Regions from separate parts of the Homo sapiens genome. Here all the other regions are linked to region 2. Evidence: promoter capture Hi-C in 16 types of primary human blood cells and fetal thymus (Javierre and others, 2016). All regions are on one chromosome and are shown on one strand. Each heading gives the region's core, a stretch centred on a gene start or on the middle of the fragment in contact. The rest is flanking DNA. Distances are from core to core; before and after follow the strand shown.

Region 1 (2,963 bases), core at 229-2,728, 93 kb after region 2:
ACTTTGGGAGGCCGAGGTGGGCGGATCACGAGGTCAAGAGAGCGAGACCATCCTGGCCAACATGATGAAACCCCATCTCTACTAAAAATACAAAAATTAGCTGGATGTGGTGGCACACACCTGTAGTCCCAGCTACTCAGGAGGTTGAGGCAGGGGAATCGCTTGAACCTGGGAGGCAGAGGTTGCAATGAGCCGAGATTGCGCCACTGCACTCCAGCCTGGCGACAGGGCGAGACTCCATCTCAAAGAAAAAATAAATAAATAAAAATAAAATAAAATAAAATAAACACCAAAGGGCTGGGCGCGGTGGCTCATGCCTATAATCCCAGCATTTTGGGAGGCCGAGGCCGGTGGATCATTTGAGGTCAGGAGTTCAAGACCAGCCTGGCCAACATGGTGAAACCCCGTCTCTACTAAAAATACAAAAATTAGTGGGGCGGTAGTGGTGTGTGCCTGTAATCCCAGGCAGTCGGGAGGCTGAGGCAGGAGAATCACTTGAGCCTGGGAGGCGGTGGTTGCAGTGAGCCAACAGGAGTGAGCCAAGACTGCGCCATTGCACTCCAGCCTGGGTGACAGAGTGAGACCCCTCCCCGCCAATAAAAACCCACCAAAAAACATTGTAAACAAAGTTAAAACATAAATGACAAACTGGAATATATATTTGCAATTCATATCAGACACAAAGGGCTGATTTCCTTAATATATATAAGGAGGAAAAAGATGAACAACCCCAAAGGAAAAAAGAAAAAAACAGGAACAAGTGATATGTGCATAGTGTAATCTGAAAGGGAAACAGAGAAGGCCTTGGAAAAGACGGCCAAGTCCAGAGGGTGCGGGCCCCATGGCAGGCTGTGGCGTCCCCTCACCTCATACTTCTCAAAGTAGACGTTGCCCAGGTGCAGGATGGAGGCCAGGATGCGGAAGATGCTGTCCTGGTCCTCACTGCTGAAGCCCAACACCTCCATGGCAGCCAGGAGCCGGCGAAAGTCATCTGCATCGCTCTTTCCTGCTATCTCACAGTTCCCACCCTGCATGAGGGCAGAGGCTGAGGGTCAGGGAGCTTGGGTGGGGCTGGGGAGCCCTCCAGGTCCTGCTCTGCCCTGACCAGTAGTGTGGTGGCCTGAGTTGGTCACTCAAGCTGTCATTTCACTCTCATGGGCACGGAGGCTCTGAGCACGGCTGAGGACGGAGTTCATAGATTCTAAGTGCAATGTGTGGCAGGGGTTGTCACCTGTTGACCTTTGCAGCTGCCCAGTGATAGTAATGAAAAGAGTAGCAAGTGTTTACTGAGCATGTACTGCATGCCAGGCCCTGTGCTAAGCTCTTTACATGCGTTTCCTCATCTAAGCCTCACTACATCCCTGCAAAGTGGTACTATGTTGTCCCCATTTTACAGGTGAGGAAACTGAGGCACAGAGAGGGGAAGTGTAGAAACTCTAGACTGGTTGGTTCTGTTCCAGGTTCCAGAGAAATGAAGTCAGGTAGGCCTTTCCTGCTTCCGCTTTGGACCCAGAAGACTCCTGGTCCCCCTCACTGCCATGAGATGTCTTAAATCCAAACTCACCCTCCCCAAATCTCCTTCACCTTCACACTCCATCACTCACAACTCGGCTCCCAAGGCCCAGCCAGGGGCGTCGGGGTGGGAGGACCAGGGCCAGGGGCCTTCAGATGCCTGCTGGCACTCACCTGGTTCAGATAGTAGTAGGTCTCAGCCTCTTGCAGGCTAAAGGCCTGCCTGAGCTGGGCAGGCAACCCGGCCAGCAACTCGTAGAAGATGTGGTAATTCCTCTCGTTTTTGGCCTGTAGAGTGGGTAGGTGGGCACAGAGAAGGGAGCCACCTACCTAGGTGACCCCCAGGCACACATACAAGCCCAAGCCTGCCCACAAGTGCACATGCACACAGTGGGCTGCAGATGAGAACACGCGCCTCTGTGATGGGTGAGGCTCCCAGCCTGGTGCCAGCTGCGGGTGAGGGCAGAAGCAGAGGTGCCCTGGTATGATTGAAGTTTGAGAGGGTTCTGGTGGGATTTTATTTGGTTAGGAGAAATAAGAGAAAAGGGACCCGTCTTCTCTTATGTGTACCGGCCACACACACCTGCATACATGTGTGTCCATAGCCCACATGTGCACACACAGAGCTTCTTGATGGCTGAGCACTTCCTGTGCACCAAGCCCTGTCCTAGGCCCTTGGGACATAGTGGGGAACAACGTAGAGAGAAGCCCCTGACCTGATGGAGCCCACCTGCTAGCTAGGGAGACAGACACTCAGCAAATAACTGCTTAAAACATAAAATATATGAGACAGGGAAAAGTACACTGGAGAGAAATAAAGCAGTGGACGGGGTAGGGGCTCTGATGGGATGGAGAGGGGCTGCGTTTTTAAATGGGGAGCTTCCTGAGTGGGTGAAATTGTAGGGGAGACTTGGAGGAGGTGAGGGGTTTGGCCAAGCAGGTGCCTGAAGGATAAGTGCTCCTGAGGGAAGGAACAGAAGGTGCAAAGGCCCTGGCAGGAGCGTGCCTGTGTGCTGCGGGGCAGGGAGGAGCCACCGTGGCTGGAGGAGGGTCGGGGAGGGGAGGTCCTGGGCTCACATGTACACATGTACGCATGTATTCGTTCATTAATTTGACGTCTACCTAGCCCTACCAGGGGCCAGGCTCTGAGTATCTGTACCTCCCACCCCGACCCTGCCCAACACAGAGGCCTGGGAGGGGGTGGCCCACCTGAAACACGATCCTGGATTTCTCAAGCAGGTACTGGGAGGTTATGGCACCAGAGATCACGCCCCTGGGGTGGGGAGCACAGTCAGCTCTCAGTGAGGGTAGGAGGGCTGGTGTTGGCTCCGAGGGGCTGTGGCAGGACATGGAAGACACTGCAAGGCTTTTGGGAGGCCCTCCACTGTCCCAACTCACCCTTCCAGAAAGATTTCCACAAACTTCCCAAAGCGGCTGGAGTTGTCGTTCCT
Region 2 (2,914 bases), core at 415-2,914:
ATCTGGGGACCACGGAGCACCAGCTTCCCTTCTGGGCCCCTCTCAGGTTCCTAGCAGGTTCTCAGCCACCGTGTGAGGGTCCTGGCAGCTCTCATCGGCAATCACTGCAGACCTAGGCAGGGAAACCCTGAGACATCCCAGTGCCTCCACTACTCCAGGTCCAGCCGTCCCAGAGCCTCCTCCAAGACAAGTGTCTCCTCAAGGCAGCCCAGGGCGCCTGGCACAACACTGGCCCAGGACCACAGCAGCCCCTTGGAAAAATCCCTGCCCCTCAAGGCTAAAATCCAACCCCACTGACACAAGAACTCAAGAAAGATATTGGTGCAGCTCACTCTGACTCCGGGCAAGCCGTCACCCCTCTCAGAACCTCAATTTTCTCACCTGTATTTTGAAGATAACTCTAATTTCGAAGAGCACTGAGAGGCTCTGCCATCAGTGGGCTCTGGGGTAAGAATGAGGACAAAACCAACGTCCCCAGAGCAGTGAGCCAGGAGTGGGCTGAGGCCCTGCTCTAACATCAGTGCAGAGGGAGGCGGGGGCTGAGGCGGCCCCTTTCCCTGGCCCCTAGTGTCCCACTCCGGGAAAGGAAGGAAAAGCCTCCACCTCACTCCACCTTGGTGCAGAAAGGCAGGACAGCTGGCCCATGTGGCAGAGGGAGCCAGGGCCCACAGTATGGAGAAAAGTAGCCTCATTTCACAGCTAGGGAAACTGAGGCCCCACGATGCGAAGTGCAGTGTAGTACACAGCCAGGCATGTCCCCTGGACTCGGAGCCCCGGGCAGGGCAGAGCAGGGCAAGGCAGAGCCTGGAGCAGTGGGGGAAGGAAGGAGAGGCTCCTTGAAGGGATTTCCCAGCCGCACCCCCCACAGCTGCCTCGCCCCCACTAACTCTCTCACCCTCCTGGGTGCCAAAGCACAAAACAAACCGGGCCCCAGGGCTGTCCCAAGGGCCGAGCAGGGACGCAATGGAGCCCCTAAGAAAAAGGATAAAGAGACAGAAGTGAGCGACAGAGGTCGAGAGACTCCACAGAGACAGAGAGAGAGACACGCAGGGAGAGACAGGCAAAGAAGACTCAGAGACGCACAGGCAGCAAGAGAAATGAGAGGCAGAGAGATAAAGGGAGACAGGCAGAGATAGGAAGGGGCAGAGGCAGAGACACCCCCACCACACACACAGGCACAACTGGGGCGAGACAGCCGGTCAGCGGCGGAGAAAGAGGGACAGAGACCCAGAGACAGGCAAAGAGTCTCAGAGACAGACCCCCACACACACAGACTGGCAGAGCCAGGGCCAGAGCGGCCCGCAGAGACTCGGGGAGCAGACACGGAAAGTCGGCCGGAGACCCAGACCCACCCAGAGTCCGAGCCAGAGCGGGGCCCGCCGAGGGGGTGCGCGGCCCGGCCCGGCCCCGCCCCGCGCCGCGCTGCATGCCAGCCCCCGCCCCCCGGGCCCGACGTGGCTCCGACCCCGGGCCCCCAGCCCAGGCCCCCGTCCCGCCCCCTCCCGCCCGAGCCCGGGCCCGGGCCGCCGCCGCACCTTGTTGAAGGCGAAAAGCTCCTGCTTGAGCTTCTCGCGCTGCGGGTCGGCGCCCTGCCGCCGGAACCGAAACTTCATCATCTTGCGCCCGGCTGCAGGCGCCTCGCCCGCCGCCGCCGCCCGCAGGATGCGCCGCGCGGCCCCGCGGGTCCTAAGGCGCGGGCGGGGCGCCAGGCGGCCCGGGCGCGGGCGCGCGGGGCCGGGCCTGCACGGGGGTGGGCGCCGGGCGCGACGGACGCGCCGCCCGACCAGTGAGCGAGCCCGCCGTGCCGCCCGCCCCGCCCCTGTTGGCCAGACAATGGTGAACTGGGCCCCCGGGCTCGGCCGGGCTCGCGAAGGGACGCCCGCCTAGCATGCGCCGCGGCGCGGGGCCTGCCGGGACTTGTAGTCCATGAGCCGGGGCTCCAGCGCGGGCGGCTGGGGAAGCGCTTTGGAGGGGGATTGGCGCACGTTCCCGGGCTTGGAGGAGACTTTTTCCTCCTCCCAGAGAGCGAGCGACGTGCCCACTCATGTAATGGGGCAGCCCTGTTCCGAAAGCCAAGACAGCTCTGACTGGAACAACTCCCTGGCCCCTCTGCGCCTCAGTTTCCCCATCTACACCATTGGTCAAGTGATTGCCAAGTTTATATTTTACCAATTTCACAGAACTCCATTTCGTCTGTTCCCCGCTCTGTCAGAGCACCTCCCACCGCCGTGCTTTTGCCTTGGCTTTGTAGTCAGGAATTCTTTCCTCACCCCCAGCCCCTGGGGAACTCCTACACATCTTTCAGGACCCAACGCAAAAGGCTCTGTGTCACAGCACAGGGGATTCTTTCTTAGCCAAAGAAAGAGACGGGATCCCCAGGAGGTGGCATTTGGGACTGTTCTGGGGTTGGATTGGAGCTTTACGGAGATGGGGGAAGGACCTCCCCCCGCAGAGAACAGCGTCTGAACAAAGCTTAGCCCTGCCCCTACTCTCAGGGGCCGTCTGCCTGTCCCCACCCACCTCCCAGGCCTTTTCTCATCTGGACAATGGCCTCGAGGCTGAACCTTTCCTTCCAGGCTGAGGATAGGCCGCCTGGCTCAGGGCTGGGGCTGCGGGAGGTCCTAGAAGCTTAGGTGGGGCAGGTAGGACAGGCCCCAACCCCACCAGCTGTGTCCAGGGAGCAGGAGCTGACCTCTGAGCCCGAGGCGGCTGCCAAGCCTTGGGGCCTGGCTGTCCCCCTCCACCCACGCCAGGCCGGCGGTGTTCAGCCCTTCCCCGTATTTGGGGCTGGATCCGGAAGAGGGCCCAGGAGTGAGTGAGGAGGTGAGAGGAGGGAGAATGACGACAGTAAAGCCCCTAAGTGTCTACTGCGGGGCAGGCGCTGTTCAAAGCCCTTTCCTGGTTTCAGCTGACT
Region 3 (3,287 bases), core at 612-3,111, 120 kb before region 2:
GGCCCAGTGGCTCACGCCTGTAATCCCAGCACTTTGGGAGGCGGAGGCAGGCAGACCACCTGAGGCCGGCAGTTCAAGACCAGCCTGACCAACATGGAGAAACCCGGTCTCCACTAAAAATACAAAAATTAGCTGGGTGTAGTGGCACATGCCTGTAATCCCAGCTACTCGGAGCCTGAGGCAGGAGAATTGCTTGAACCTGGGAGGCGGAGGTTGCAGTGAGCTGCCGAGATGGCGCCATTGCATTCCAGCCTGGGCAACAAGAGCGAAACTCCATCTCAAAAAAAAAAAAAAAAAAAACTGCCATAAATAAAAGATAAGTCACGCATCCCTCTGCATTACCCTTGGGCTCCCAGCTCTATACCCCCTCCCAGGCAGTGCCCTCTCTCTGAACTTCACCTCTCAAGGCTGGTGGTGAAGGGGCACCTCCTGGAGCTCAGGGAAGGTACAAGGCCTGTTCTCGCCACTCCTGGGTGAAGGCTTAGTGGCCAAGGTCCCGGATGCCACTTGGTACCTCAGTTAGAAATAATCATGTCTCCTCTGGTCCACTCGTTTCAGGCTCCCCTGCAAACTTTGCTGTGTACACTGCCCTGGTGGAACCCCATGGGCGCATCATGGGCCTGGACCTTCCGGATGGGGGCCACCTGACCCATGGGTTCATGACAGACAAGAAGAAAATCTCTGCCACGTCCATCTTCTTTGAATCTATGCCCTACAAGGTAAGCATGTGTTTCTCTCCTAGCTTTTATTTCCTTGGGAAACCTCTGATGCTTGGCTGTGCCTGCAGGGGTAAGTTTGGTTTATGTGTCACTACAGGAAGTCCCCACCTCGCACCGTTTTTAATTTCCTTGCAGCGGGGACTCCTCAGGTTTTCAGGACCCGCTGGGGCAGCTGGGATGGAGAGACGAGGGTCTGAGCTGAGGCCACAGGGAAACCAGTGAGGGAGGCAACTACTGAGGAGAGTTCAGATGTGGCAGGGGCAGTGGCAACTGCTTGGAATAGCAACCCTGGGGAATAGCAACCAGGTCACTACAGTTGGACCCCAGCAACAGCCACCACCTCTGCAGCTCTGCCCTCGCCTGGTGACATCTCTGCTCGGAGCCCCTGTGGGCCAGCAGCAGCACAAGGATGCAGTAGCTACAGGCATGGCAACGTCCCCAGCTCCAGCACCAAAACCAGCAGCCCGGCACCATCCACAGCCACAGTCCTCCATGGCCACGTTAGGGCTAGCCCCTGCCTGTGTATAGTGGCTACAGAGGAACAGACAGTGGTTTGACTTAGGGCGTTCAACTTTAGGATAGTGCAAAAGTGACATGCGTTATTAGCTGTACTTCAAGCCCCCCATACGACCATTCTGCTTTTCAGTTTCAGTACAGTATTCAGTAGATTACATGAGATAGTCAACACCGTATTATAAAATAAGGTTTGTGTTTGACTATCTTGCCCAGTGGAGGGTACCACAGTGTCCTCAGCATGTTTAAGGTAGGCCAGACTAGGTTGTGATGTTTGGTAGGTTAGGTATATTACATGCATTTTTGACTTTATGATATTTTCAGCTTAATGATGAGCTTATTGGAATGTAACCCCATAAGTTGAGGAGCACCTGTATGGCTCAGGTGTACACCCCATTGCCATTGCCACCCCACTGCACATACCTGATAACGCAGCCAGCCCAGCAGTGGAACCAACACCATCAGAACCAGTGCCAAGTGCTGCCTCTAGGGTGTGCAGGGCCCCAGGCAAATACTTGTTTTTCGTGGGACCCGTCTGTATAAACAGTTGGGTCAAAAAATGCCTGTAAGATGTGTGGGCTTATTCAGGCATGGTGATTTATCTATAAAAACGAAGGATAATGGGAAGAAGAGGTAACTTGCTTTTTCTTTTAGTGTCCAGTGTTGGTGATTCTTTCTAGTGTCCCGGAACCATCTTTTCATGTTCTTTATTAATAAATGTGCCATTCCTGCTTAGTTTCATGTTTGTTACCATGAAAAAAGGTAGCACTGCATCCTTCTGCTTGGCTGGCATTGCATGGTCTTGGGTGCATGCTGTCCATGGTTCTGTGTGTACTCAGCCTTTGTCTCAGTGCTGGTGATTGCACGTGTGCTCTTTTTTGCAGTCATTTCTTTTCACAGAACACCTAGGTGTTTGCAGTCACAGATCTCCTCATTGGCCAAGGCCAGCCTTGAAGCTAGATTTTGAAACATGTCACAATAGTAACAAAATAGTTTGTCTTGGCTGGGCTCGGTGGCTCACACCTGTAATCACAGCACTTTGGGAAGCTGAGGTGGGCAGATCACCTGAGGTCAGGAGTTCGAGACCAGCCTGGCCAACATGTTCAAACCCTGTCTCTACTAAAAATACAAAAAATTCCTCAGGTGTGGTGGTGCACACCCGTAGTTCCAGCTACTCAGGAGGCTGAGGAGGGATAATTGCTTGAACCTGGGAGGCGGAGGTTGCAGTGAGCCAAGATTGCTCCATTGCACTCCAGAGTGGGCGACAAGAGTGAAACTCCATCTCAAAAAAAATAAATAAATAAGAAAGGCAGGGTGCAGTTGCTCACGCTTGTAATCCCAGCACTTTGGGAGGCTGAGGCAGGCGGATCATGAGGTCAGGAGTTCAAGACCAGCCTGGCCAACACAGTGAAACCCCGTCTCTACTAAAAATACATGGTGGTGCACTCCTGTAATCCCAGCACTTTGGGAGGTCGAAGTGGGCGGATCATCCGAGGTCAGGAGTTCGAGACCAGCCTGGCCAACATGGTGAAAGCCTTCTCTACTAAAAATACAGAAATTAACTGGACGTGGTGGCGGGCACCTGTAATCCCAGCTACTCAGGAGGCTGAGGCAGGAGAACCACTTGAACCTGGGAGGCGGAGGTTGCAGTGAGCCAAGATTGCACCAGTGCACTCCAGCCTAGGTGACAGAGCAAGACTCCATCTCCAGAAAAAAAAAGAAAGAATCTGCGTCCCGCACCCAGTTCCCTCCAGCCACCCCCGTCTTTGATGTACATTGTGCAGGCTGCAGTCCTGTGGGTGCAGTGAGGGGACCCACCTCAGGATGGGCATGGAGAGGTGGGGCCTGGGACCCTGGCCAGCTTGGGCAGCAGGAGGTGCAGCTCACCCGCTGTGGGGGTGATTTGAGTCCTGCCCTTGGCGGACAGGAGGAGGAGACAGACCTTATTGGCATTCATCAGCAGCCAGAGGCAGCTCACCTCCACCCCACCGGGCTGCAGAGTTGGAGGTTAGGGGGTGTCCCAGGGCCACTGCCCTGCCCAGCCTTCACCAGACC

The links. The method cuts DNA at HindIII sites, captures the fragments that hold promoters and counts their contacts. A CHiCAGO score of 5 or more calls a contact.
Region 1: a contact is called between a fragment that was not itself captured here and the fragment with the promoter of LLGL1 in region 2, in 1 of 17 cell types (M2 macrophages). The highest score is 5.1, in M2 macrophages.
Region 3: a fragment that was not itself captured here is called in contact with the fragment with the promoter of LLGL1 in region 2 in 1 of 17 cell types (endothelial precursors); the score reaches 6.5 in endothelial precursors.

Annotation. Positions count from the first base shown.
Region 1 is chr17:18,131,290-18,134,252 of GRCh38, reverse strand. It overlaps MYO15A (myosin XVA), which reads right to left. Exons shown (of 66, transcript NM_016239.4): 9 at 2,911-2,963; 10 at 2,722-2,785; 11 at 1,687-1,800; 12 at 867-1,028. Among named protein-coding and RNA genes, the nearest start is that of MYO15A, 24 kb to the right of the region's middle. The HindIII fragment of the contact is 6,162 bases long and covers 1-2,963 here.
Region 2 is chr17:18,224,385-18,227,298 of GRCh38, reverse strand. LLGL1 (LLGL scribble cell polarity complex component 1) reads right to left here and starts at 1,664. Exons shown (of 23, transcript NM_004140.4): 1 at 1,536-1,664. The coding sequence starts at 1,616. RefSeq lists silencers at 1,203-1,372, 1,523-2,002. The HindIII fragment of the contact is 4,006 bases long and covers 1-2,474 here.
Region 3 is chr17:18,344,928-18,348,214 of GRCh38, reverse strand. It overlaps SHMT1 (serine hydroxymethyltransferase 1), which reads left to right. Exons shown (of 12, transcript NM_004169.5): 5 at 559-719. Among named protein-coding and RNA genes, the nearest start is that of MIR6778, 5.7 kb to the right of the region's middle. The HindIII fragment of the contact is 4,313 bases long and covers 1-3,287 here.